Regions from separate parts of the Homo sapiens genome. Here all the other regions are linked to region 1. The links are contacts of gene promoters, found by promoter capture Hi-C in blood cells and fetal thymus (Javierre and others, 2016). All regions are on one chromosome and are shown on one strand. Each heading gives the region's core, a stretch centred on a gene start or on the middle of the fragment in contact. The rest is flanking DNA. Distances are from core to core; before and after follow the strand shown.

Region 1 (3,398 bases), core at 407-2,906:
GCCTAGGCCTCCTAAAGTGCTGGGCTTACAGGCGTGAGCCACCACGCCTGGCCAACCTAAAATTATTTCTTAACATCTCCCTTTCTCCTACTGGCTGCAGCCCATCCATCACCAAGTCTTCTCAGCATGTCCTTCTTTCTATTTCCATGACCGCTTCTTTAACTCAGGTCTACACCTCTTCTCACCTGTAATGCTGCAAAAGTGCTCCTGGTCTCAGTGATTCTAGGCTGCTCCCCATCCATCCAGCCCTCATAGTACTGCCAATGGGTTTCCTAAAGTGCAAATCTGACCATTCACACCCCTGCGTGAAGTCCTCCAATAGCTCCCTTTCAATGTCAAGTTCAAACCTTGTAGCTCAGCACACAGACCCCTTGGCTGTCCCCACCTCTCTAACCTCACCTCCGGTCATCTTCCTGTATTCTCCTGAAGTTCCAGCAATACCAAACTACTTTGCAACTCCCAAATTTCCATGTTGCTTCTTGCCTCTCTACCTCCTCATTGCTCCTTCATTGGCCTGAGATGCTCTTGCACATCCCTTCTTTTTCCAGCTACTTCTTAATTGTTCTTAAAACTTAGCTCAAAAATTACATCCTTAGAGAAGTTTTCTGGGCTCTCTGTTCCCCAGTGTTCCACCTATGCCCTTACCACATAACTGTGAGGTCCTTGAGGGTAGGAACCATGTTTCGTTCATATTTATATTTTCAAAACTCCACACAGACCTCTGTTGAGCTCAGTAACTGAGGAAAGACTGACTACTGCCTTGAGTATATCTGTGTTCTGTAGCCTGAAGTTTACACAAAAAGCTTGACACCAACCATTATGGCAAACCTAAATATCCCAATTAAAGGGTGAAAAAGTAGTTAAAGCTTTAGGAGAACCCATGACTATAATGCAACACAGCATTTAATGTCTTTGACACTGTACAACAGGCCAGTGGCCTACGTACCAATCATGGCAACAGCTGCCTCTGCTTCCAAACAAACCGATGTTAGGCAAACAGTGCTGTGTGTGACCAGGTCCCCCTTCTCTTTCTCATAAGGAGCAGCACATGCTCCATTTTCAGAAAAAAATAATCTGCCTTCTTTACTCTGTCAGTCTTTCAAAGGATGTTGGAAGTGTTCTGTTAGGAAAAGCCATGATGTAATTAAAAGAAATTGCCAGCTCACAGAAGCTGTCAGCTCAATCCCACTTCTGTGGCTACCAGCCTTGCCCCGCTGAGAACAGTGAATCAGGCCCAAGAGGGGCTGCTCAGCTCTTTTTCAGGGGGAAACTCCGTCACTCAGAAGCCTACCCCTGCCTGGGAGTTTGGCCGATTTGCACACTTTAACTTCCTTTATTTGTAAAGGGAGGAAAGAGAATGGACATTCCCCTTAGGAACTTCGCAGTGAGCCAGGCCAACTCTGTACCGAGGCTGTTTGCATGCAGCAGTCCTTCCATTTCATTTACCTACCAGTCCACAGCTTTCCCTTCTTCATTTCTGCATGAAATTGTTGCTGCCCCCAGCACCCCAAAGAGGCCAAGGAAGAGCAAAGCAAAGGATGTTCTTAGCAGTCTTGCCATCATTTTCTGTTTCATTTATTTCATGCCACAGCAGGACACTTTCCCCATAGATTGTGGAGTCTGAGTTTCAAGGCGCTCTCAGGCTGTGCTGGCTCTGACGTTTGATTTGATTTACCTGTGCTGTTCGCTGTTCGGGGCATTTTCAGAGTGGGATGGATCCCATGTAATTGTGCGATTCTGTCACAACATGCCAGCGTGACTCTGGATGCCTTTGTGCTGAATTGTTGACTGGTTTGCAAAGTCATCAAAAAGTTCTGCAGAAAAATAGGGAAAGATAGTTCACTCTTTGGAGTGAACATTGTTGTATGAAATTCATTGGGCAGGGGGACTTCATTTTAATAAGTAGATGTTAAATATATTTCATGTCTTCTCCTGTTTGACTCAATGAATGAGAGCAAATGCAGGTGGTTCGTACATTAAACAGAAATGATAAAACCTTATGTCTTAGTAATAATTAGGATCTGTCACTTAATAATCTCTGTCTTAAGGAACCAGTTGCTAAGGGATACTTCAAAGGGTTGCTTCAAAGTAACAGTAAATTTAACTGTATTTTACCAAAGATGTTTACATATTCTCTCCATCTTCCTGGTTTTAGCCACTCAATGTGGTGCTTCAGGCTGCTATGCAATAGGTAAACATATTGATCACCCACTCTTCAGGTTAATAAAAAATGTTACAAACATCTATTTTGCCCAAACTATGCTTTCTCATTCTCGAAGCTGAATCTGAAGTAGAAAACCAAAATAAAATGGCCCACTACCATAACAACTATAAAAAGGTGAGACCAATTTCTTTGTGAATCAGGGAAGGAGTAGATAGACATATGAAAATAATTTCTTTAATGCATACTTTTGCATCAATTATTAAAGCTGCCATCATAATAAATAGCAGTTTACATCATGCCTGGAAATAATGCTGCCCCTAATCTGTCTCTCTGATAATCACAATGATAACTATAATAGTTCCAGATCAGAGGATCCAGACCAAACTGAACCCTTGTAAATCAGATTACCTCTGTGGTTGCACTAGAACTGTTCACAATTCTCAGGATTCATAGAAAAGGGGAAGGCTTGTGTCTCTATCCTAAGACAGAGTTTTGGGAGGAGGACTCTGTACCACCTGCCCAATTACCTGTGGTGCCTGCAAAAAAGGCAGAATTCTAGGACTTATTCCAAACCTGCTACATCAGAATTCTTCCAGTTGGGCTCAAGAATCTATATTTTTAATAAGCTTATTGGTGATGCTGGTGTACCCTAAAGTTTGAAACTCACTGCCCTGAGGCCAAGACTATGCTGTATTTGGTAGATTCACAGCTTTCTGCAGGTTAAATGAAGAAATATTTTTCTTACCCATTCCTCCATTGGTATTATTATTATTATTATTTTGAGATGAAGTTTTGCTCTTGTTGCCCAGGCTGGAGTGTACCCACCTCGGCCTGGGAATCCATCCACCTCGGCCTCCCAAAGTGCTGGGATTACAGGCATGAACCACTGTGCCTGTTCTCATTTTGTTTTATATATTTTCTTCCTGTGTTCAGAAAAAAGGATTTCAACAACCCCAACCTTTTTGTCAATTTTTAAAAGTTTTTTTAAAAATTATCAGCTGGACGCAGTGGCTTATGCCTGTAATCCCAAAACTTTGGGAGGCTAAGGCAGGAGGATTGCTTGAGCCTGGGAGTTCAAGACCAGCCGGGGCAACATAGCAAGAATGTATCTCTACAAACAATAAAAAAAAAATTAGTCGGGCATAGTGGCACATGCCTGTAGTCCCAGCTGTTCAGGAGGCTGAGGTGGGAGGATTGCTTGAGCCCAGGAAGTGGAGGCTGCAGTGAGCCATGA
Region 2 (3,808 bases), core at 1,221-3,720, 230 kb after region 1:
TTAGAATGAAAGTAATGAGCAGTGTTGGATCTTCCACTTATTTTCCTCATCCCTCCCAGTTAGTGAGGGTGAAACTATTATTTCTTTCTTTTCCATAAAGAAAAGCTACTCAAGTTAAAACTGTTAATTAGACTTTGGAGTCTGATCATCAAAATCCTGTACATATTTGGGCAAATAACCATCTTTAATTTCAGAAATGATGTACTGCTTTCCCAATTTTTTTTCTCACAGTATTTTCAGTCAGAATCTAGAAAGGGAAATTAATGAAGTGTTGGTATTCAAGTCTGTATGGTGCTGTAATTCATAGCAGATTCATGCCTTCTTCTTCAGAGATTTGCCCTCAACTACAGCTGGGCCAGGATTCTCACCCAGGATTTTGATATAATGATGCTAGTTACATCAAAAAGCACATGAACTAGGAGAGCACATAAACTTTGAAGCTTTCAGATGACTAAGCTCCATTTTGCACAAGCATCAGAGAAACCTATTCGCTACACAGTGAGGATAATAAAGCAAATACAAGGAAAAAAGTAAAGACGTCATGTGATCTCAGAGAGAAAAACTGAGAAAGGTACTGTTATGATTCCAGTCAGCTTTCCAAATCAATTCTACTCTTTGGAACAGCTCAACTCTACTTTTGCCTTTGAGCTCCATGACATCCTCTGCATCCCAATAATACCTGTATCTTCTTCTGCTTAAGCTTATTTGAGTGAGTTGCTACAACCTCTAAACATAAGGGCCTTACAATAGTTTGACTGATTTTCAGAGAAGTTCCTTTAGTATTTCTTTATAGACCTTGTTTGCTTAACAAGGGCAAAAACTTCACAAAAAGAGTTATGAGTAAGAAAAACATTTAGAAAGTGAAGGCTCTTTTCACATATAACCAATTTTTTAAATACTAGAAAGATAAAGGTACTGACTGGTACAATTTAGTTTCTTAAGCATTTTATATGACTTCATCCTACAAAGTTGATAAAGGAACAAGTAAATACTATGGTTATTGTATTTTTCTGAACCAAAAAAAGTCAAAACCCACACTGGTATTTTTCACTGGCAATGTAAGGGAACTGTTCAAGTATGTAAAAATGAATTATATTTAGTTTATCATTAATTCTATAAGTATTTATTGGGTACCTTGCTGTGTTTGGGGTACTGGGGTGACTACTAGAAACATACAATGAATAAGGCACTGTCCTTGACTTGAGTTCAACATTTAGAGATTAGAAAGTGACATACAAATTTATAATTTCAATATAATACAATAATTGTTGTAGTTTGTAAGTTTGCTTTGGGAGTACAGAGAAATCACCTAATTCCACAGGGTCAGTGTCGGAGGTAATGACTGGTTCTCTAAATTTTTATGATAAAGACTATAAATATGGAAAGGTAGCAAGGAATTATATGTAATATAGTATGGCTAGATCAAAATTTGTGAGAGAGATTTTGCAAACAAAACCAAAAAGGTAAGTCATTGATTGCATGTGACCTAATAAGGAGTTTAACTTTTATTTTAAAGGCAATAGGGAGTAACTGAAAGTTTTCATGTTAGTTTAAAAAATGGGCATATTTGCATTTTAAAATTTTCAGTGTGGAAAATGGCCTGGAAGGATATAAAACTGGAAGCTGGGAGACCAGTAATGCAGTTATTATAATAGGATTGAGAAGAGATCTAGAAGCCATCCCAGTGTCAGTAAGACTGGAGAATATTGAGTGATTTTTGATGTAGAATCAATAGAACTTAATGACTGAGTACATGTCTGAGGGTAAGAAACAAGTTAGAAATGACCAAGGTTTCTGTTTTCACTTCCTGTATGGGCAGTGAGATCATTAACAGATATCAGAGTCAATGAAAATGGAGCAGATTTAGGGATGATAAAAGAAAATCCACTTTTGAACTGAACGTTCAGGTAATGACTGAAGATGTAGGCATGGATGAGATTTTTTGGAGAAAATGTAGCATCAAAAGAAGGCCAAAAGATAGATTCTCAGAGAAAACCAACATTTAATTGGCAAAGGATAAAAGGAATAGTCTTATAACGAGAAAAGTACCATGTACACATAAATATCACATGTGTAGTTACAGACTTAGATTAAAAGGCCTAGCATTTGCTTATTTTTACAAATAAAACCACACTTCTCTTGTAATTTTCCAAGTTGAAATGGCTAGGACACTTAACCATTTATGACATGATTAAAATCAGTTGAAATTGGGCATTCTCGACAAAGTCAGAACACCTAGTTGTGATTACTATGATTATTTGTGGTATAAAATGGCTAGAAGGGAAAGCCAATATGATCAAATATATCAAATGCTATCTACAATGCATAGCTTTTTAAAGAAAAATAAAGCAATAGTGAAGCAATAACATTTTCCTTCAGCTAAATCCAATCCATCCTGTTGTAAAACCTCCAGAACACCATGGTGGTTACCTAAAGATTCTAGATTATATGCCAAATTTTCAAAGAGAAAATATGCATTGGCCTGATTCAAATAAATATATGTATGACAACCAGGTATATTCAGTTTGATATCCATAGAAATCCTAAGGAATGTTAAGTTGTTTTTGTAATATTCGTTCAAATTTAAAACAGCAGATTATTTAAAACAGATCTATTTCAGTAACAGGAAAATAACAATCCAGTTAATTCTTAGTATTTTGCATGTTAAAATGTCCCTTTAATATCTAATATTATTCTATAAACAAATATATAACAGTGTTTAAGAGGTTTATATTGTACTGTAGCAGGATAAAGAATATTTATTGGTTATAATGAGGTGATCTCCAGTTATGAAAGAAAAGGTTCGTCAATTTTGAATTCTATCATTATACAGCAAAAATCCACCTTTCAGTTTCTAAATTCCAATTCCAAATCTTATAAATGCAAATTATAGGACTGTTATGTTATCAGAGAAACCATATTCTACTTCTCTTAAAAATATCTGAATCAAAGGTTAACTTCCAAGCATCTTATTTAAGCAAAAGATGCTAATGAATTATGCTCTAAGCAAATGTTTTTCACTCTAACAACAGGATATCTATTTTTAGCTGCAGGTTTGGCTTGAAGTGACAGCTTTTACCCTATGATAAACTGCAGTACATACTGTAGTATATTTTTTCAAAAAAACAGTTTTGGAAATATTTAGAAAAAATAAATCACATTATAACAAAAAAGACTAGTTGTCACAAGTGTACTTATTCTAAAAAATTATTTCCCCCAAAAACTGTTTATTAAAAATTTTAACAAACCCTACAAAACCAAAATGCTCTAATTATTTCATCATTAAATCCTTATTTCTCAATAAATTGTAGGTAAAAGCAACCAAGACATCAACAAAATTCTGGCAGCATCTTATTTTCAAAATTACTATTTAAAAAATCTAATAAAAATAATCTAATAAAAATTAGCATTAGGAATGACAAAGCTAATCAAAGGAAAGTTAAACTAATTATCTTCAGGATCAGATACTAAAAGAAAATCCTCTCTTATGGTTAGTCTACTTACTAATTTATAACACAATTAATAACAGTGCCCAACAAATACAATAAATCGAACCATAAAGAAAATTAGAAACTGATTATTGGTATTGATTATTAATAGTGCCATTAATTGTTTACAGTTCTTACTGGTTTTTGAAGGCAATTTACTATAATGCCTAAGTACAAAAGCGTCACCACAAAATATAATTCACAGTAGCTGTGGCTTTATAACTGTCCCTTTAAAAATATTTTTTCCTCTTATAAATATATTTTTTAAATAAACAGCTGCAGAGTCTCAGAGAGCATACTTACCACTCATGATGAAAACC
Region 3 (3,631 bases), core at 418-2,917, 230 kb before region 1:
GGACAGAGGCACTAGCATTATTTTAATCAGGTTAGTTCTAGATAATGGGTGAATTATCCTAGGAAGAGAAGAACTAAAACTGGCCCCTGGCAAACTCCTAATGATGAGTCTGTACTGCCATCATTGGTGGTGTCCCTCGGCAGCTCAAGGCCATGTTGGGTGAATGTGGGCCTGTGGGGAAGTCCTGTAGTGCTCCCTGGAGAGCCTGGGGAGAGACCACCAGCAGTACCCAGCTGTTTAGTAACCACGCTCTGATTGGTGTGTCTCATAATCGGTAGTGCTGGGCAGCTGTTATATCTAGAACAAGTTTCTGCTGGCGGCCGAAGTCCACTGTTTTTGACATTATGGTCCTTAGAGGACGGTGATAATGGTCATGTGTAACCTGCCAGAAAGTTAATTGTTCACAGCAGCTTGAGTGTAATATCTCCTGGTTATACTAGTATAAAAAGGCTTTCTGCAAGAAATGCAATATGAATTGGGCCTCCAAAATCTAGGTTTCTCTGTGCCTTTTTAAAATTAAAACTTTAAAAAAATGCCTGGAGCTAAAAAGAGAGAAAAAATAGAATTAACTCATTTATAGATTATTAAAAACCCAATATGCTCTACGACATAGAAAAGTAAGCATATATGTTCTTATTCAAAAATTTCATCAGATGTGTATTTCATCAGAATGATAGGGCAAAATTGATATTTAAGATCAGAAATACACCTGAAAGATCAGGACTCTGGTATCCACCTAAACCATGGTAGAACATATGTAAGGTTGAGAGAGAAAAATGTAGGTTGGGATGTTGAATGGACAGCTGTTGCTGGATTTGTATTGAATTGATGCTTCTTCGCTTCAGAAACAGCTCTTCTGGCATGATGGTGACCTGCCATGGAAAATGCTGGGTCCCAATGCCCAAGTGACTGTAGTTGTGGCTCAGCCAGGACCCGACCATTTAGATCACCTGTTGTTAGACACGCAACACTGTCAACATAGGTAAGTTTCCACTTTTTATGAGCCATGTTAAAAAAGGTAAAATTAAACAGGTGGAATTCATTTTAATAATAGGTTTTATCTAACCCAATCTATCTAAACTATTATCATTTCAAACTATAATCAATGTAAAATTACCAACTGATTTTACATTTTTTTCATACTCAATCTTTGAAATCCAGTGTATATTTTATACTTACAGCACATCTCAGTTCAGACCAGCCACATTTCAAGGCCTCAATAGCCGCAGGTACGTAGGCTTTCGTAATGGACTTCACAGCTCTACGAGTGGACCCAGAAAGAATATTTAAAGGGAAAACACTTTAGTTCCATTAAGCCAAAGCAACTTATTTTCTAGTAGTACTTATAGGAATATTTTTTTTGTTGTCATTAAATTCCATCCTCTTTTCCATGCTAAGGTTGCTATTATTAAGAAACTTAGTTTGGTGAAACAGACACTAAAATAGTTACCATGTGAGAAGTAGCATGTTAAAAAATGCTATGTGAACACAGAGAAGAAAGTCAAAGACCCCAAGATAAAATCAAAACTGTGTTTCCCTATAGCACAGTGATGTTGACTTAATTAACCATCTGTTTATCTCAATGCACCTATACCTTTTCTGGAGCTTTCATTTCCCCATAGCTCACTATATTCCTTTTCTATTGCAACATTAACAAGTTACCACAAACTTGGAGGCTTATAGTAACACATTATTATTTCACAGTTCCTGTGGGTCAGCAGCCTGTACACAGCTTACCTGGGTCCCCTGCTTGGGGGGATCTCACAAGGCTTCAATCAAGATGTCAGCCCAGGCTGTGGTCTCCACTGAGGCTCCGTGGGAAAGACCCTGCTTCCAAGCTCACCTAGGTTGTTTGCAAAATTCGGTTCTTTGCAGCTGTAGAATGGAGGGCTTCAGTTTATTTCTAGCTATGCTGTGGGGCGGGGTGGGGGAGCTGCCCTCAGATCCTAGAGGTCACCTGCAATTCCTTGCCACTTGACTATGTCCACAGAGGTGGTCCATGCATTTCTGCTTCCTTTGCCAAAGCCAGCAACAAGAGACTCCAACAAGACACATCCTACCATCTCATGTATGCAATCCCGTGCAGGCAATCATGGACATGTCCATCACATACATAACCACGTCCATTCCATCACCTTTGCTGTATTCTATTGGCCCACTCAAAGGGTGTGGACTAATTAGGGAGCGAGAATCAGCCCTCTTAAGTCAGCCCTCTCTATTTCATGTGCCAACTCTCTAGAATATTGATCCTTTTGGTATTTTAAGTCATATCTATTGTCACTGGAAATCCTTTTTGAAGTAGAAAGGACAGAGCTCACAAAATACAAACCGCGCCACTATTCCTGCCTGTCATTTAGAGTTTTGCCAGGGGAGCAGGTTGATTTCAGTCTTTTCATGGAGTTTACTGTTTGATATGATGATATCTTTACCCCCATAATTAATTTTATTTTTAGTTTTGAGACATGGTCTCATTCTGTCACTCAAGCTGTAGTGCAGTGGTGCCATCTTGGCTCACTGCAACCTCAACCAGCCCAGGTTCAAGAGATCCTCCCACCTCAGCTTCCTGGGACCACCCCAGTGGGATCACTGGCGCAAACCACTATGCCCAACTAATTTTTAAAAATTCTTTGTAGAGAGGGGGTTTCACTATGTTGCTCAAGCTGGTCTCAAGCTCCTGGGCTCAAGCAATCTGCTTGCCTTGGGCTCCTTTGGGATCCCACAAAGTGCTGGGATTACAGGTGTGAGCCACCACACCTGCCCCCGCCCCATAATTAATTTTAAGTTAATCTCCACATTTCATTATCTTGGGCTAGATTTCGGGGGAGGGGCCTAATTTAGCTGGCATGTGCCCCATTGGGTGAATCGAATAAAAGCATAGCTGCCCTGGCATGGATCTGTGAACAAAAGTTCTCTGAAAAGAAATTTGGAAGAAAGACTTCATTCAGGAACAGTTCACAAACTTTCTGTGTAAACCAGTTACTTTCCAGAGAACAAAGGGAGGATCCTGGTTTTATAGTAAAAGTTCATGCTCAGGTTGCCAATCAGGTCCATTTTATGAAAATGAAGGCTTTAAATTTGCTTAGTTCTGTTTGGTTGATGCAGCTGCATTCTGATTAGTGGTTAGAACTGAGCCCTAATTGGTTCTTTCAGATGAGCTCTGATTGGCTGCTTTAGGTGAGCTCTGAAAGCCCCACTGTTAAACTGAGGTTGGGGGTTTCCAGGGAAACTCCGAGTATATGAGTTCTAGTCAGCAAATGGCCTGGCCACTTGGCTCTCTTTAAAATTTTGGCCCAGTTAGGTACTTGGGATCCATCTTGAAGGATTGGCTCTTGAAGGATTTGTTCTGAGAACACTTGTGAACTTGAGAGGCCCAGTAAGGCAGAGTGAAAACCAGAACGCTTGGCACCTATCAGTTAGCACAGGATCCTTCCCTGGAACATCAGCATCCCTTATAAGTGTGTCTAACGGCCAACTCGTAGACAGAGCTATTGTTAATACACTGTTCTGAGTATCCCTCTGTGAACACCTTCATCTGGTTGATACAGGAAAATTAAGGAAGACAAAGTTTTGGGAAAGTGATTGAAATCGTGGAATAATCAAAGCAAATCAATGGCAGCTTGTGTTTAAAATT
Region 4 (3,425 bases), core at 483-2,982, 130 kb after region 1:
GAGTGATGGTTTATGATCTGATGTGTGAGAGATAGCAAATAGAAAGCAGGAACAAGGTCATGAATCCACATATGCAGTGGTGTGAAAAAAGGGTCAAATGCCCTCTTGCTGGTAAATATAGATGTCTACATATTGGCAATGTTTTCAGTGTTTTTCCTAAAACTCTCTTCTTGTTTTTGCTATTTCTGAAGAAATGTGAGGAAATGCTTTCATTCACTTAAAAAATTAGCAAATTGTTCATTTTCTTGTCACAGAAAAATGCCAGCATCTTGCATTAGCAAGATGGCTTTTGAAGCTTAAGATTGATGCAAAGGGAGTTTTACCGCAGCAGCATTTTTCACTAGAAGGGATAAAAGGGAGGGGAGAGATGAAAGATGTCGACAGATCCTGTCTTTTTTTTTAGGGAAGGTTCCCACAACAGCAGATAGACTGGTCTAGAAATAGCTACCCGTCATTACTATATATATATATATATATATATATATATATATATATATATATACACACCTCTATTTCTTAAAAAAGTTCCCATATCCGAGGTTCTACTGTGGAATTTAAGAGACGATAAAGGGAATAATAGTCATGCACGCTTCATAAATGGCTCCCAGATTATTCACTGTCCTAAAGAAGATGCAGGCTCTGGACTGCAGACTTCCTGTAGGTCAGAGTATGAAAGCACAGGGTCCCACTGAGGCAAGAGCAGCTTTACAGCTTCTCTGCAGTTGTCTAGAATTTCCCAGAGAAAGCAAAAGATGAGGCTAAATGTAGACTTTCACCTTGAAAAGCTGTAAAGGTAATAAAAACAGGGCATAGTGGGTTGGTTTGCAAGACTCCCACTTCACATTTTATGTGCGTTTCCAAGCAACAGAGCTTCCTAAAACTAGAGAAGTGAGGACGTGAGTGATGAGCACAGTAGGCTCAGCCACTGGCTGCACCAGATAACTTTGGACACAAGAGAACTCCTTGCTTCATCTCTGTCCATTGTGGAGTCAGCTCCATCCCTGACTCACTCCTCCTGCCCACCATCCTTCCTCCTCATCTCCACCCCACTATCCTCAGAGCCTTGGGAATCCCTGCACATATTAGCTGTCTAATCAGTACTCATTTTGTTTCTTTCTTTTATTTTTTTTAGACAGAGTCTCACTCTGTCGCCCAGGCTGGAGTGCAGTGGCGCGACCTCGCCTCACTTGAATCCAGGTTCAAGTGATTCTCCTCCCGAGTAGCTGGGATTACAAGCACGCACCACCATGCCCAGCTGTTTTTGTATTTTTAGTAGAGGCAGGGTTTCACCATGTTGGCCAGGCTGGTCTCGAACTCCTGACCTCGGGTGATCCACCCACCTCCGTCTCCCAAAGTGCTTTACAGGCGTGAGCCACCGCGCCTGGCCCAATCGGTACTCATTTTCTGGCTTTCACTGATATCTTTCTATGTTGATTTATCCAGGAACCATCTAATGTTTCCTTAGGTATTTGTTGATTAGGTAAATGAAGCAGCTCAGTATTTGGGGGAGTCCTAAGTTTGGGATGAGGCGTTATTCAACTTTTGGGACACAACTCTTCCTATTGCATGTATCCTGTGGGCCATAACAGAATTTCTGGTTCTGGCTTTACGTTTCAAGGCATTAGCACTTCATTAAAGTTAACTTAAAAAATGCATCGACTGAGTTTTCTTTCTCAACTAATTTTAACACATAATGTTTTTTATTTCTTTAACTTTTCCATTCAGTGAAATGCACATTAAATGAAAGAAATAAAATTATGAAACTTCTGTAGTCTAGGCTTATAATTAATAAGATGCTTAGGTGCCTGTCAATATACTTGTTTGTAGTAACATCACAAAAACATATTATACAACTTCCTGCAAATGGGCTAAGGATAGCAAAGACTGTGGAAAAACTGCCTAACTGGAAATGAATCTTCGTCGCAGGAGGCCCACAATAATAAAGTCAAATGATGAATATATGAAGATTTATATGACATGCCAGCACATTATTACCACATATTCTATTAATTAATAGTTAGCCATAAGAAATCAGCTCAGGGGTAGAAGGAAGTCAGTTTGTGGACAAATTCAGCCTTCAGTCTGAAATTCTTCCACTGCCATAATCACTGAAACCTTCAAGGTTCTGAATGGCCAGCACCTACTAAACGTTAGGATTAGCTCCTTAGCAAATATTGGTTTGACAAGACCTTCGGAATAATTTTCTATTTGCACAACTTGTCCAACTTTTCTGTAATTGTCTTTTTAATTCTACTATTTTTAACTTTGCTTGTGAAGAAGTCATTTTATGATATTAGTGAAATGGATATTGTCTGAGAGGTTTTCAGATAACTGAATTTCCTAAGTGTATTTCAGAGTGGAATCTGTGATGTGTCTGGAATTCGCCCCCTTGTTAGGGACATCTCTGGCCCAGGGAGAGGAAGCACCCCACACCCACGGATGGCAGGATACTCAGGCTGGTGCTCTGTGATTCTGAGGTCCACGTAGAAGCAGCCATAGGAACCCCAGCACCTCATTTGGACTCTACTTCCTCTAGTTTAACTCTTATCTTCTCCCTCCAATTTATCATTTCATTAGTTCTTCCCATTTAGTAACTCTATTCCAACTAATAGACTTCTTCCTTCTTCCTTATCCTTTTACCTTCTTCCATATCCCTTGCCTGTTTGTCTCCTATTCTTTTATCTGATGCTTCTTTCAGACACCGTTCTTGGTAACTGACGTGTCCTGCTTAGTCCAAGACCGCTCCTGCAATATGCCCCTGCGAGCACTGCTGCAGTGGGCTCCTGGCCCTGTTGCTGTGAGGCCCACCTCTGTGTTTCAGGGAGATCTCAGCCAGCTCCTGGGTTTCTTGCTCTGGTTGGAGGAATTTCTGGCTCTCCAGGTGACCTGGGTCCCAAGTGAGACATAGCATGTATGATAAGTGGAGTTCTACCTGAGCAGCGAGGCCCAAACAAAGCACCCCCATGGAGGAGGGTGTTCCCTGCTCAGAAAATATGAGGTCTTACCTGTCTATATCTGTGTGCTATACCTGTGATCCAGATGTTATGATGTACCGCATGGATGCAAGGATATACAGTGTGGTCCAGGTGTGCACCCGGCCAGTTACCAGTCCTCTGAGCCTTGTGGGGGAGCCCACATCCCCAGAAATAACATTGAAGTCTCAAGCTTTGTCATGTGTATTCCCCTTTACTGCACAGGTCTTTTCTTTTTCCTTTTTTTGGCAGAGTCTCACTCTGTCGCCCAGGCTGCAGTGCAGTGGCACGATCTCAGCTCACTGCAACCTCTGCCTCCCAGGTTCAAGTGATTCTCCTGCCTCAGCCTCCGGAGTAGCTGGGATTACAGGCGTGTGTCACAATACCTGGCTAATTTTTGTATTTTAGTAGAGATGGTGTTCTCCATGTTGAACTCCTGAGCTCAGGTGATCC
Region 5 (3,409 bases), core at 283-2,782, 210 kb after region 1:
CAGCATTACAATGAGTAAATAAAAACTGTTACTTCCTGGCAGGACCAGGAACCTCAAGACTGTAAGGAAAATCTAAGACTGCCTTGGTTCGGCTTCCTTGCCTCAAGAGGTTTTTAAATCCAAGATTCCTATGTAATCAATGTAGAGAAAAAAGTTTTTTCTAAAGAATAACTATAATATACCTGTTATTAGACTGTAAGTCTGTACATTATTTTTGAGTCTTGTTATCTACCTATAGACTAGACAAGGTCCTAAATTCTTCTAGGTTCCTCCAATCGAACTTTCTTCCATAAAATTACTAAAATGAGAACCGCTCTGTTCCTGAAGTCCTGTTAGCTGAAACTATATAAATTTTAAGAAACAAGTCTCATGCCTGATGTATGGGCCACACAGAAAGTTCATCAAACTGCCCAAAGCCATAGCCAGAGACATTTACACTGTAAACAAAGCCAAGAAAGTTGATGTTTTCCATGGTGTGAACAGCTTTTCTCAAAACACTAGAACAAGACTCCATATTGTAATGAAACTCTTACCCCTCTTAATGCCTGCTTTTTCACTTAACCAAATAATATTGTAATTTAAAATTCACAATCAGTAACTGCTATAGGTACTGGTGAGACCTGCTAAAGCCATTGACAAAGCCTGACTTAAGAAATTCTTTCAGTTCATCTAGTCACAACATCGACAATATCCTTAACACAATTTTTTGTTTAATTTGTGCTGGTGGTCCCTCTTGCAAAGTTTGGCATTCTCTGCTTTAGTTCAACCCAGTCATAAAATGTTAGTCAATGGCTATAGCAGGTCTCACCAGTTTCCCCTGGTCCTTTGATTTCTTTAGTTTTTTGCCCTTAGGCCTGGGCTTTAGTTCAAAAGCACTGCACAAATACATTTTACTATATTGTTAATTTTTTTGTACTATCATTTGTAAGCTTTGTTCTTAGTGCCTATCTAATCTTTGTAAAGGCAGCTGTCCCAACAGAATAACGTTAGCCCAACACTTAAAGATGACTGCTAATACCTATGGAAGTGATAAGTGGGAACTCGATGCTGGCTGGACTCCAGACAAAAATCTACTTTGAGAAAAATTTTCCTTCTGGCCTCCTCGTTACTTGAATGTGGCCCAGGTCCCTACATAGACACCCCCCAACAGATAACTTCTCTCATATGTGGGACAGAGACAACCAGAACAAGTCCATCCGAGCACCAAGGAATAATTAAGCCTAACTTCAAGATGGTTGACAAGCAATGCTTTCAGAGAAAGATCTTGATCAAAAGGGAAAAATGTGAAAGCTGATTATACAAATTAGTCATTCTCATCATACCTAACTAAATCAGAGTCGAGGGGCCAGGGAATAACGCACTCAGGGCACACAGCACCTGCTCCAAGAATTAAGGCCAGGTGTGGTAGCTCACACCTGTAATCCCAGCACTTTGGGAGGCCAAGGAGGGTGGATCACTTGAGATCAGGAGTTCGAGACCAGCCTGGCCAACACGGTGAAAACCTGTGTCTACCAAAAATAGAAAAATTAGCCGGATGTGGTGGCGGACACCTCTAGTCCCAGCTACTCGGGTGGCTGAGGCAAGAGAATCACTGGAACCCAGGAGGCAGAGGTTGCAGTAAGTCGAAATGGTGCCGCTGTACTCCAGCCTGGGCAACAGAGGGAGACTCAGTCTCAAAAAAAAAACCAAAAACAAACAAAAAAATTATATTTTCCACAAGTCTAGTTGCTGAAACTGCCTATTGTAACCTGAAACCAGTTTTCTCTAACAGCTACTGAGACAACCTACTGCGACTCTTAGACGAGTCTGACCCACCACCATCACTCACCAATCAGAGCTTGCCAGCTCCCCAAAACTTAACTAGTGCTAGTAAACTTTGTTTCAAAACAAATAAACATAAAATTTCTTTTTATAAAACCTCCAACCTTTTCTTTGTTTTCTAGACACATTGAAGACCACCTAGTCTGTGTATATGCCTCAAACTGCAATTCTTGCTTCCTCAATAAAATGTTGAATTTAGAGATTTGTCTCTACATTTTTATTTTGACTTCAACACACTATACTGAATGAAGCTGTACCTGTTTTTTATTTTAGCTTTATTCTATTAGTGATTATTAATGAACGGTAGAAGCTTATAAACTATTAAGTACAGGTAAAACCATCAGATTCTATAACCTATTTTAATAACTCTGAGATCTTATTAGTCATAACCTGATGAGGTACAAACTCCCGTTAAATTATGTGTATATTTTAAAAACTAAACTTAGCAAGAACTTTAAGGAGAATTAAATTTGTGAAAAACAAACTTTTATAATCTTATTACCATAATACTATTATTATTATTTCTCTATATATTTATTTTCCATCTTCATCCTTAAAACAATCCTCTGTCCTGGAGTTGTATTATTAATCTTTGTTTAATAAATATTGATATTTTAAAATTCAATTAATTTTTCCATTTTCTGAAAACTCTTCAAGTAGTGGACCCTCACAATATCTAGCAGTAGTATAACATTTAAATTGGCTTCAAAGTCCTTTTTTTATATTAAATTTTTATATTCTTTATATTAAAACTTGTGTATGATGTGGCCTCTTTGTTTCCACCTAATGCTTCATATGGCCAAAATATTAATCAAACAAAATAAGTTTTTGGCATTGGCATCAACTTAAAAATCTGGTTAAACAACACAAGCATATAAAGATTTGAAGAAAGCAAAACCATTAGTTACCTGAACCTTCCAATTCTTCTTAGATGTGAAAACATTTCACCCCCAGGGACATATTCCATAACCATGTATAAATTAGAATTATCCTATGAACAAATAAAAAGGAAATACAATTATTCAACTTAGGTCAAAATTATTTTAATATTATATAATGCTGAATTAGAAAAATTTAAAATCTCTCTGACAGATTAATAACCTTGAGAAATAAAGAATAAATGGAACATGCTCTAGCTTTTCTATACAGAGACACTCATATTTTTCCCCTCCTAGTTATTTTTGCCACAAACTAGTCTGGGACTTTTGCTCTTCCTTTTCTTGCAGAGAACATCTAGTTCTCAAACAATTAAATACTCAGGCAATGAAGTAACGTTATAATATATGCAAAAGAATAACAAAGGTAAAAAACAATTTAAAAAGTTAATAAGAATATTTACATTTTATGTATAAAAGATTAATGGTTTTAATATTTTAAATACATAGGTCTTCATTTAATTTAAAGAATAAAGGAGAAAAAAGATTAAAATGTTTCATATGATTCAATATTGCAGAGAGATGCCAGTATCATTCCAAAGAGCTCAAAAGTGACCAATTTAAATAATAAATGTGGTACAATTTTTCAGACATTTGAATAGTGGAACAAAAATTTTGCTTTGTATAAGTGAAAAGACTAGAACTCAAATTAC
Region 6 (3,507 bases), core at 234-2,733, 190 kb after region 1:
GTTCTGGGAGGCTGGGATTTTGGCATGTGCTAGGCAGAGGGTGCATATGTGACCAACCCCCAATGAAAACTTTGGGCATTGAGTATTTAATGAGTGTTGCTGGTAGATAAAATTTCACGCTTGTCACAGCTTGTTGCTGAAGGAATTATGTGCATCCCTTGTGAATGCCCTGGGAGAGGACTCTTGAAAGCTTGTGCCTGGTGTCTTCTGGACTTTTGCTATCTTCACTTTGTACCCTTTTGTTGTAATAAATCTTAGCCTCAAGTACCACTGTATGCTGAATCTTGTTGAGTCCTCCTGGTGAATCATCAAACCTGGAGACAGTCTTGGGGACTCCTGAGACAGAAAGGAATAGCAATTGGGCTGATAATCAATTACCCTTCATGTAAATATTGAATTTCCCTTCAGGAAAAATTAACCAACTCTTTGATCATTCAGTATATACTTATGTTTATACTTCTCTATGTTGCATGTCTCCTTATATATTGTTACTCATTAGGAGTGGAACAATATTTACATTAGATATGTTGAAGCTAAGAATTTTTTTAAATTACATAAGCCAAGGGCTCTAAAGTTATGGTTTCCATAGTAGCTGTTACTTGAGTACCTTATTTGCAAGTATAATTTTTGACTGCAATATAAACTTTCTATATTTCCATGGGTAACGCAGCCAGACAAAGGTGCTATAGAGACCATAACTGATTCTTGTCATGGAGTACATGACACTGAGACATGAAATTTAAAGACTACATACAGAAACTCAGCATATGTATTGTTAGGATGAGGCATAGTTAATGCAGGAATCATAAATCTTTTCTTTCAACTATGAATTTGTAGACTCAAACCTTAACATTGCATGAATAATGTGACATTTAAATACCACCTCCTCTGTTTTTTTAAAGGCAAAATATGTGTAGGAGAGAATCTAACAAGTTGATTGATCATCTTTGTGTGCATTTAAAAATACCAGCTTGAGTTAAAATATTGTAATAGAGAAAGTATTTTACAATCTAATATTCATATATATGTACTTTAGTGAATTTATCACTTAATTAATAAATTTAACTTTGATAAGTCATTGATACCTATAATCTTTATAACGTGACTTCAGAATGGTGGATATAATCAATATAAGATGCTGTTTCATAAAATAATATGCTTCTAAAATCAACAAAAACAATTCTGAATGAAAAGCATATTCTTAAATGATATATCATTAAAACCATTAAAAGTTCAAATGCAAATATAAATATAAGGATCCACAAATATAAGACCAAATTGGATTTTTAATAATTTGCACAATTTAAAAAATTTAAAAAACTAGTTAGTTTCCAATTTGGCTTTTAGCCACTAACCAGAGAGACAATAATATTTTTGCAATGTGAATAGAGACACATTCTAGTTTGAATTTGAGTTTTGAAACAGATGATTTATTGGGAAATGGTTAATACAATCTAACTTCACATAATACAGAGCCTTTTAATGGCAAAAATTCCACTTTCATGACTTCTACTTTAGATGAGTAAAGGGAGTAAGAGATGGGGATAATTTTATATCCCACATGGGGAGAGATAATCTGGTACTTTTAGTTAAAAAACAAAAGTACACCAAATATCCTGTCATATTTCTAAATAAATGAAGGGGAAAACAGAATATTGTGATATAATAAGGTTTTCTGGTGTCATTCTTCTAAGGTGCCCAGGATTTAGACTGTTATGATTTTAGAATATATGCTGATTATTAGATACAAAATTTTAAAGTTTGATATAAAATGAATATATATTCATAAACAGCTGAATATAAAATTTAACCAATAGAGAATGATTGGCAAATCGAGGCCAATGCATAAAAATGAAGACACATTAATTTTAACTAAAGCAGTTTTTCTTAATAAATGTAAATTTAGTTATGACAGTATCCTTGTTAGAAAATTGGATTTCTTATATGAATATAAATAAAAGTAATATAGTAAAGATTCAAGAACTTTATAATTACTGTCAATTAAATGATTTGAAACAATTATTATAACATTTACATTCTTAGTTTTTGTATTAGTAAAATATTCTTCTTCCATTTGTGATTTTAATGTATTTTGGTTCTCTCATCATTCTTCATATGACCTTTAGTCCTCTTGAGAGTCTACACTTCTCAAATTCTTCAAAAATAAATCACTGCCTTGTCTGTTAATTTTTCTCAAAGTTTTGTTTTGTTCATATCAAAAGTTCTGCTGGGAGAAAACAATTACAAAGATAAGAAGTCTGAAGCCAGAGATCTACAAATGTAAGAAGAACAGCAGTGATACTGATACTTGTTTAAATAAGTACTGCATTCTGCTTTTCTGTATTGCCTTTATCAGTGCACAGCATTCAACACCTAGCTAGGTTTATTTATCTGTAAGAGGTATTTATTTTTTTACCTTTGACATAGTTGGAGTATAAATTCTTTAGTCAGTCTCCTAATTTGTGAATACTGATAATAAATAAAACTTTCTACATAAAACGTGGCAAAATACAAGGGAAAATCTCATGACCCAGGTAGAGTGCATATGTACTATGAGATAGGGAACAATACTGTGCTGAAATGTATGTTCTAGGTGATTGGATAGACTAATTCTATTGGCAAATGTCTTGTTGCTACAGCCCAGCTGTGCAGCATCTATGATTTAAATTTGAGTGTTGGCAAAAAAAATAAATTACCACATTAGAGACATTCAGGGTACCTTGTGAATAGTTAACAATGGAAATTGTAAGTTGATAGATGCCAAGGGTAAGCTTTCACACTAAATGTAGAGCTTGAATATGGCTGAGATACAAAGAAATAAAGACCTTCCCTCTACTATCTCCTTCCGGCTTATCTCTGCCTAAGAAGGTCACAAAATACAAAGCAAACAAATAAAAAATAAAACAAAAAAACCTCAACTCTATAACATCTCAGGCTAATGTGATAAAGATTGATGCTCTATTTCCTGATCATATTCTAAATGGGACTATGTGGGAAAGAAAAGAAAAGACAAAGCAGTACCACATGTAGAAATAGAAAGAAGGGAAAATAAGCAAAATATCCCTTCCCATATATTTTGTCATTAATGTATAGAAGGTCTCCTTCTGGGAATGTTTAAAAGCCTATTCTTTCATTGCTGCATGGTAGGAAATTCAAGCTCATTTCTATTGAATTGACAATGGTCTTTTAAAAAAAGATCCGAGGTCTGAGCTAAGGCAACAGCAAATGACTGACCCTAAACAAAACACTCTTGAAAGCAAATTAGAGGTTATAAGTGCAAAAGAAGGAAGGTTTATGAAGAAATTTACAAAATGTAAAATACTACAACACAGTAAGTCTACTCATGTTGAAGAAAAATTAATGTTATTTCCATGTTTGCTAAAAACCAATGACAAGTATAATCACAATCTATATGAACAATTCTGTTAAAATCAATTCTATAAATTTCCATCTGAAAAAGGCTTATTCATTTTATATTTACTTTTACTTCCAATGTTATAGTATTGG
Region 7 (3,478 bases), core at 386-2,885, 160 kb after region 1:
TTCATTGTTAGTATCACCACTAAAAGATGAGCAGAGACTGTAAACTCAATGAATCTGGTGTGCTTAATTTTATGTTATATTAGCACTGCTTTGAGAGAAGGGCTATCCTTCCATGGGTAAGTCTGACCTGGAAGTAGTAGTGGTTTGAGTTACTCATGCCTTCCCTTACTCCCAGTATCTCAGTGGCTACTGTTTCCTACTTCCTGCTTGTATTCCAGGAAGAATAGAAACAAGATAGCAGGTGCACTGAGGTTTGTGACCACACTGATTTTTTTTTTTGCCTGTGGTAAATTCAGTTTTGCCCACGTATAAAGCATATGAAGGGAAATCAATGCAAGTCTTTCACCATGAGAATACTTAGCTCAGCGGGTGTATTATAGTTTGTTATGGCTGCCATGATGAAGTATCACAGACTGGGCAGCTTAAACAACTGAAATTTATTTTTCACAATTCTTGAGTCTAGAAGTCCCAAGTCAAGATGTTGGCAAAGTCAGCTTCTTTGGAGGCCTCTGTCCTTGCCCTATAGATGGTCATCTTCTTCCTATGTCTTTACGTGGTCCTCCCTTTGTCTGTGTGCTTCTTATGAGGACATCAGTCATCTTGGATGAAGTCTTCCCATATGACCTCATTTTACTTTAATTACCTCTTCAAAGGCCTTACCTCCTAAAACAATCACATGCTGAGGTACTAGTGGTTAGAATTTCAGTATGAATTTTGTTCACAGTTCACAATCCAGGTCATAACAACAGGCATAAAGGCTATTAAATAAGCATATGGAAAATCTTCAGGAAAGCTTAAATGAAAAGTACTTAACTTCACATCCAGTATTTGTGCACAAGAGAAAATTTACAGCTAAATAGATTTCAAATGATGATAGTTCTTCAGTAAAGACATACCTAGATTTTTGTAATTAGTTTTACAAGGAAATGAGAAAACTGCATTTATATTAAGCCCTGATAATGATAAAATGAAGCGAGCACTGGTATAAAAATAGTAAGCTCCATGTTATAAAATGCATAAATAGAAATGTTTGCAAGAACAATCATACAAAATGGCAAGCCATTAAAATAATTACCTAAAGAAATGATTATTTCTTGAGGTAAAAGACAACTATGGAAATACACACTAATTAACCTGTCTAAAATGAAAAGAGGTAATGTGAAGCTCAAAAACACTCCTGAAGAAAAAATTAGAAATTAATATTTCATTGTTACAATAGAAGGATGAGTGCTCTTGAAGAATCAAATCCTTTAAATATGAATATTTAGAACATTATGTTAGCAGTAATCTGAACCAATATGAGAAATGAGAAAGAAGTAGAAACACTTTTGAGAAACTATTAAATGAATCTAGCAGTTTCTTAGTAAACATCCAGTGTGAGTAGACTGGCGGATATATTCCTCCCCAATGTGCTCTGCTCCCACCACCCAGAAATCAACCCAAACACATAAAAACTAGGAATCTATAAGCATCTCTTGTATCAGCGGAAAATAAATCAGGAGATGAGGGCACCAAGTAGAATTCACGACTCAATCAATTGTCTTATCCATTGAAGGTACTTTAATTTTGCAGTTATTGATTAATTAAAAAACACAGTTGTTTTCAGCATTTCCTAGCTACAGTAGTGCATAGGAAATTCCATTCTAAACAAAGAAGTAATTAATGAAATAACAACACACCTTAACATTTTACATTGATAGGTTACAGTTTACAAGGTGCTTTCACATACATTATTTCATTTGATTCTTACAACAAGCAGAAAAAACAGTGGGAAAGATTTTTTTTTTCAGGCTTACAATGAGTATTTTCAGGCCAATGGGCAGTTAACACAAGAATATACCAAGAATGAGACAGCAATACCCATAAGCCACAATATCGTTTTTGGTAGGTTGACAGTTTGATTCAACTGGGTATTCAGCATCGGTGAGTGAGAAAGGAATTAGGACAGACACCAAGGCTCTTATGATATTCAAATAATTTTAAGAACACTGTCAGAGATAAGAAGAAAGATGCCCTAAAATATATTGCCTTATTGAGACTTACTTCAAAGCAATATACCCTTCAAAATATCAGATAAAAAGACAATCTTGTCATCGACTGTGAAAGTTAGGAGGAATCTTACAAACTGCCTAATCCAGTTCTTCCATTTTACAGACAAGAGAACTGAGGCTGAGATCATACTGATAGTTTTCCAGCCTGAAATTCAGATGTCTTGACTTTCAGTCTAGGGCTCCTTCTTACACAATGCCATCTCTTAATTATTTACTGAGCATAACATAATATCTTCTGTTTCAAATATGTAATTTTAGGTTAAATACTGATTTATGCTACTTACTTCTTATTCAAGTTTTTATCTTATTCTTGGCTAAATTGTGGCTGAAACTGGGAATGTTACATACTTTAAAAATATTCTAATTTAGTGTACTTGATTGGTCAGAAATTGACTCCCTTGACATATTTGCTCATGACAAGCTTGCTCACGGCCTTTAAATAGAGAGTAAAATGGAATGGCTGAATAGCCCTCAAAACCAACGTATGTCTAGGGATCATCTACCTAAGGTAGATTCTACAGCTGGGCACTAGTAATTTCATAGAAAAAAATATTTTTTAGAATTCATAGAAATCTTTTTGATTACTGAAAACTAAATTGTAATAATCAAATTGTCATCCCCATGACTTATTAAAATAATTTTACAATAATATACAACAAAGCTACCATAGAATTTGTAGTTTACATATAGAACACATTGGTCAGCATGTTCTTGGGTCTAAATGAAATACAAGAAAATTAAAATATTTTATACGAATGATGTTTTAAATTTATTAACATGACGATATGCCTTTGTTACACAAAACTTGCTAGAGCAGAGTATTTTATTTTTTTCTTGCACGTTTTAAATATAGATGGACCAGTGAAATCAATATCAGCATTTACATGACATTACCATGCAGAAACACTTGATAACCGAAAGACATATAGATTGGTAGAAAGAACATCTCAGACAGGTTTTTTTTATGTCTTCAAAGGTTTCACCAGGGTGTGGTACAGATGAAAAGAAGTGGTGTTAATGACCTACCTGCACCGATAATAAAGCAAATAGAATGATTATATACATTAAGATCAGCTTGATTAAAAATAAATTTTATATGCAGGTAAATTGATCATTAAAATGAACCCAGTTTAACTCTTCTCGTGTGTTGTTTTAAGGTAGGTCACTGAAACGCAGAGATAAAATCAGATGGGGAAAATTAAAAGCAAAGAAAAAAATAGCAAAACAAGTGGGTTAAGCCATGGATTCTCAACAAACACTGAACTAAATGTGCAAAAGTGCTTGAAATTTCCACCTGACAGCAATGTTGTTAAGTCAGTTGGCAAAAAAAAGTGTAGGAAAAAAACTAACCTCTCAAATACCAACATTGTATCTGCATGATCGATCAGACATTCTGTTTACTGAGAGAACAGAGGTTAGAAATTATG

The links. The method cuts DNA at HindIII sites, captures the fragments that hold promoters and counts their contacts. A CHiCAGO score of 5 or more calls a contact.
Region 2: a fragment that was not itself captured here is called in contact with the fragment with the promoter of DNASE2B in region 1 in 3 of 17 cell types (M0 macrophages, M2 macrophages and M1 macrophages); the score reaches 7.0 in M0 macrophages.
Region 3: a fragment that was not itself captured here is called in contact with the fragment with the promoter of DNASE2B in region 1 in 1 of 17 cell types (neutrophils); the score reaches 7.3 in neutrophils.
Region 4: a contact is called between a fragment that was not itself captured here and the fragment with the promoter of DNASE2B in region 1, in 2 of 17 cell types (M2 macrophages and M0 macrophages). The highest score is 5.9, in M2 macrophages.
Region 5: a fragment that was not itself captured here is called in contact with the fragment with the promoter of DNASE2B in region 1 in 9 of 17 cell types (M2 macrophages, M0 macrophages, M1 macrophages and 6 more); the score reaches 13.0 in M2 macrophages.
Region 6: a fragment that was not itself captured here is called in contact with the fragment with the promoter of DNASE2B in region 1 in 4 of 17 cell types (M2 macrophages, M0 macrophages, M1 macrophages and 1 more); the score reaches 9.1 in M2 macrophages.
Region 7: a fragment that was not itself captured here is called in contact with the fragment with the promoter of DNASE2B in region 1 in 5 of 17 cell types (M0 macrophages, M1 macrophages, M2 macrophages and 2 more); the score reaches 9.8 in M0 macrophages.

The regions. Positions count from the first base shown.
Region 1 is chr1:84,396,742-84,400,139 of GRCh38, reverse strand. It overlaps DNASE2B (deoxyribonuclease 2 beta), which reads right to left and starts at 1,656. Exons shown (of 6, transcript NM_021233.3): 1 at 1,451-1,656. The coding sequence starts at 1,575. The HindIII fragment of the contact is 1,924 bases long and covers 869-2,792 here.
Region 2 is chr1:84,164,997-84,168,804 of GRCh38, reverse strand. The region is part of intron 1 of PRKACB (protein kinase cAMP-activated catalytic subunit beta); the gene reads right to left. Among named protein-coding and RNA genes, the nearest start is that of PRKACB, 23 kb to the right of the region's middle. RefSeq lists a silencer at 1,750-1,799. The HindIII fragment of the contact is 3,536 bases long and covers 703-3,808 here.
Region 3 is chr1:84,628,961-84,632,591 of GRCh38, reverse strand. LINC01555 (long intergenic non-protein coding RNA 1555) reads left to right here. Exons shown (of 3, transcript NR_027379.1): 2 at 846-982; 3 at 1,705-3,631. LOC124904206 (a long non-coding RNA gene) reads right to left here and starts at 2,116. Exons shown (of 5, transcript XR_007066196.1): 1 at 1,958-2,116; 2 at 1,738-1,875; 3 at 1,180-1,261. The HindIII fragment of the contact is 7,254 bases long and covers 1-3,631 here.
Region 4 is chr1:84,262,644-84,266,068 of GRCh38, reverse strand. No RefSeq gene overlaps it. Among named protein-coding and RNA genes, the nearest start is that of SAMD13, 37 kb to the left of the region's middle. The HindIII fragment of the contact is 2,870 bases long and covers 298-3,167 here.
Region 5 is chr1:84,184,503-84,187,911 of GRCh38, reverse strand. PRKACB (protein kinase cAMP-activated catalytic subunit beta) reads right to left here. Exons shown (of 10, transcript NM_182948.4): 5 at 2,730-2,812. Among named protein-coding and RNA genes, the nearest start is that of PRKACB, 42 kb to the right of the region's middle. The HindIII fragment of the contact is 1,202 bases long and covers 932-2,133 here.
Region 6 is chr1:84,203,199-84,206,705 of GRCh38, reverse strand. The region is part of intron 8 of PRKACB (protein kinase cAMP-activated catalytic subunit beta); the gene reads right to left. Among named protein-coding and RNA genes, the nearest start is that of PRKACB, 61 kb to the right of the region's middle. The HindIII fragment of the contact is 2,581 bases long and covers 193-2,773 here.
Region 7 is chr1:84,236,558-84,240,035 of GRCh38, reverse strand. PRKACB (protein kinase cAMP-activated catalytic subunit beta) reads right to left here. Exons shown (of 10, transcript NM_182948.4): 10 at 1,538-3,478. Among named protein-coding and RNA genes, the nearest start is that of SAMD13, 63 kb to the left of the region's middle. The HindIII fragment of the contact is 1,679 bases long and covers 796-2,474 here.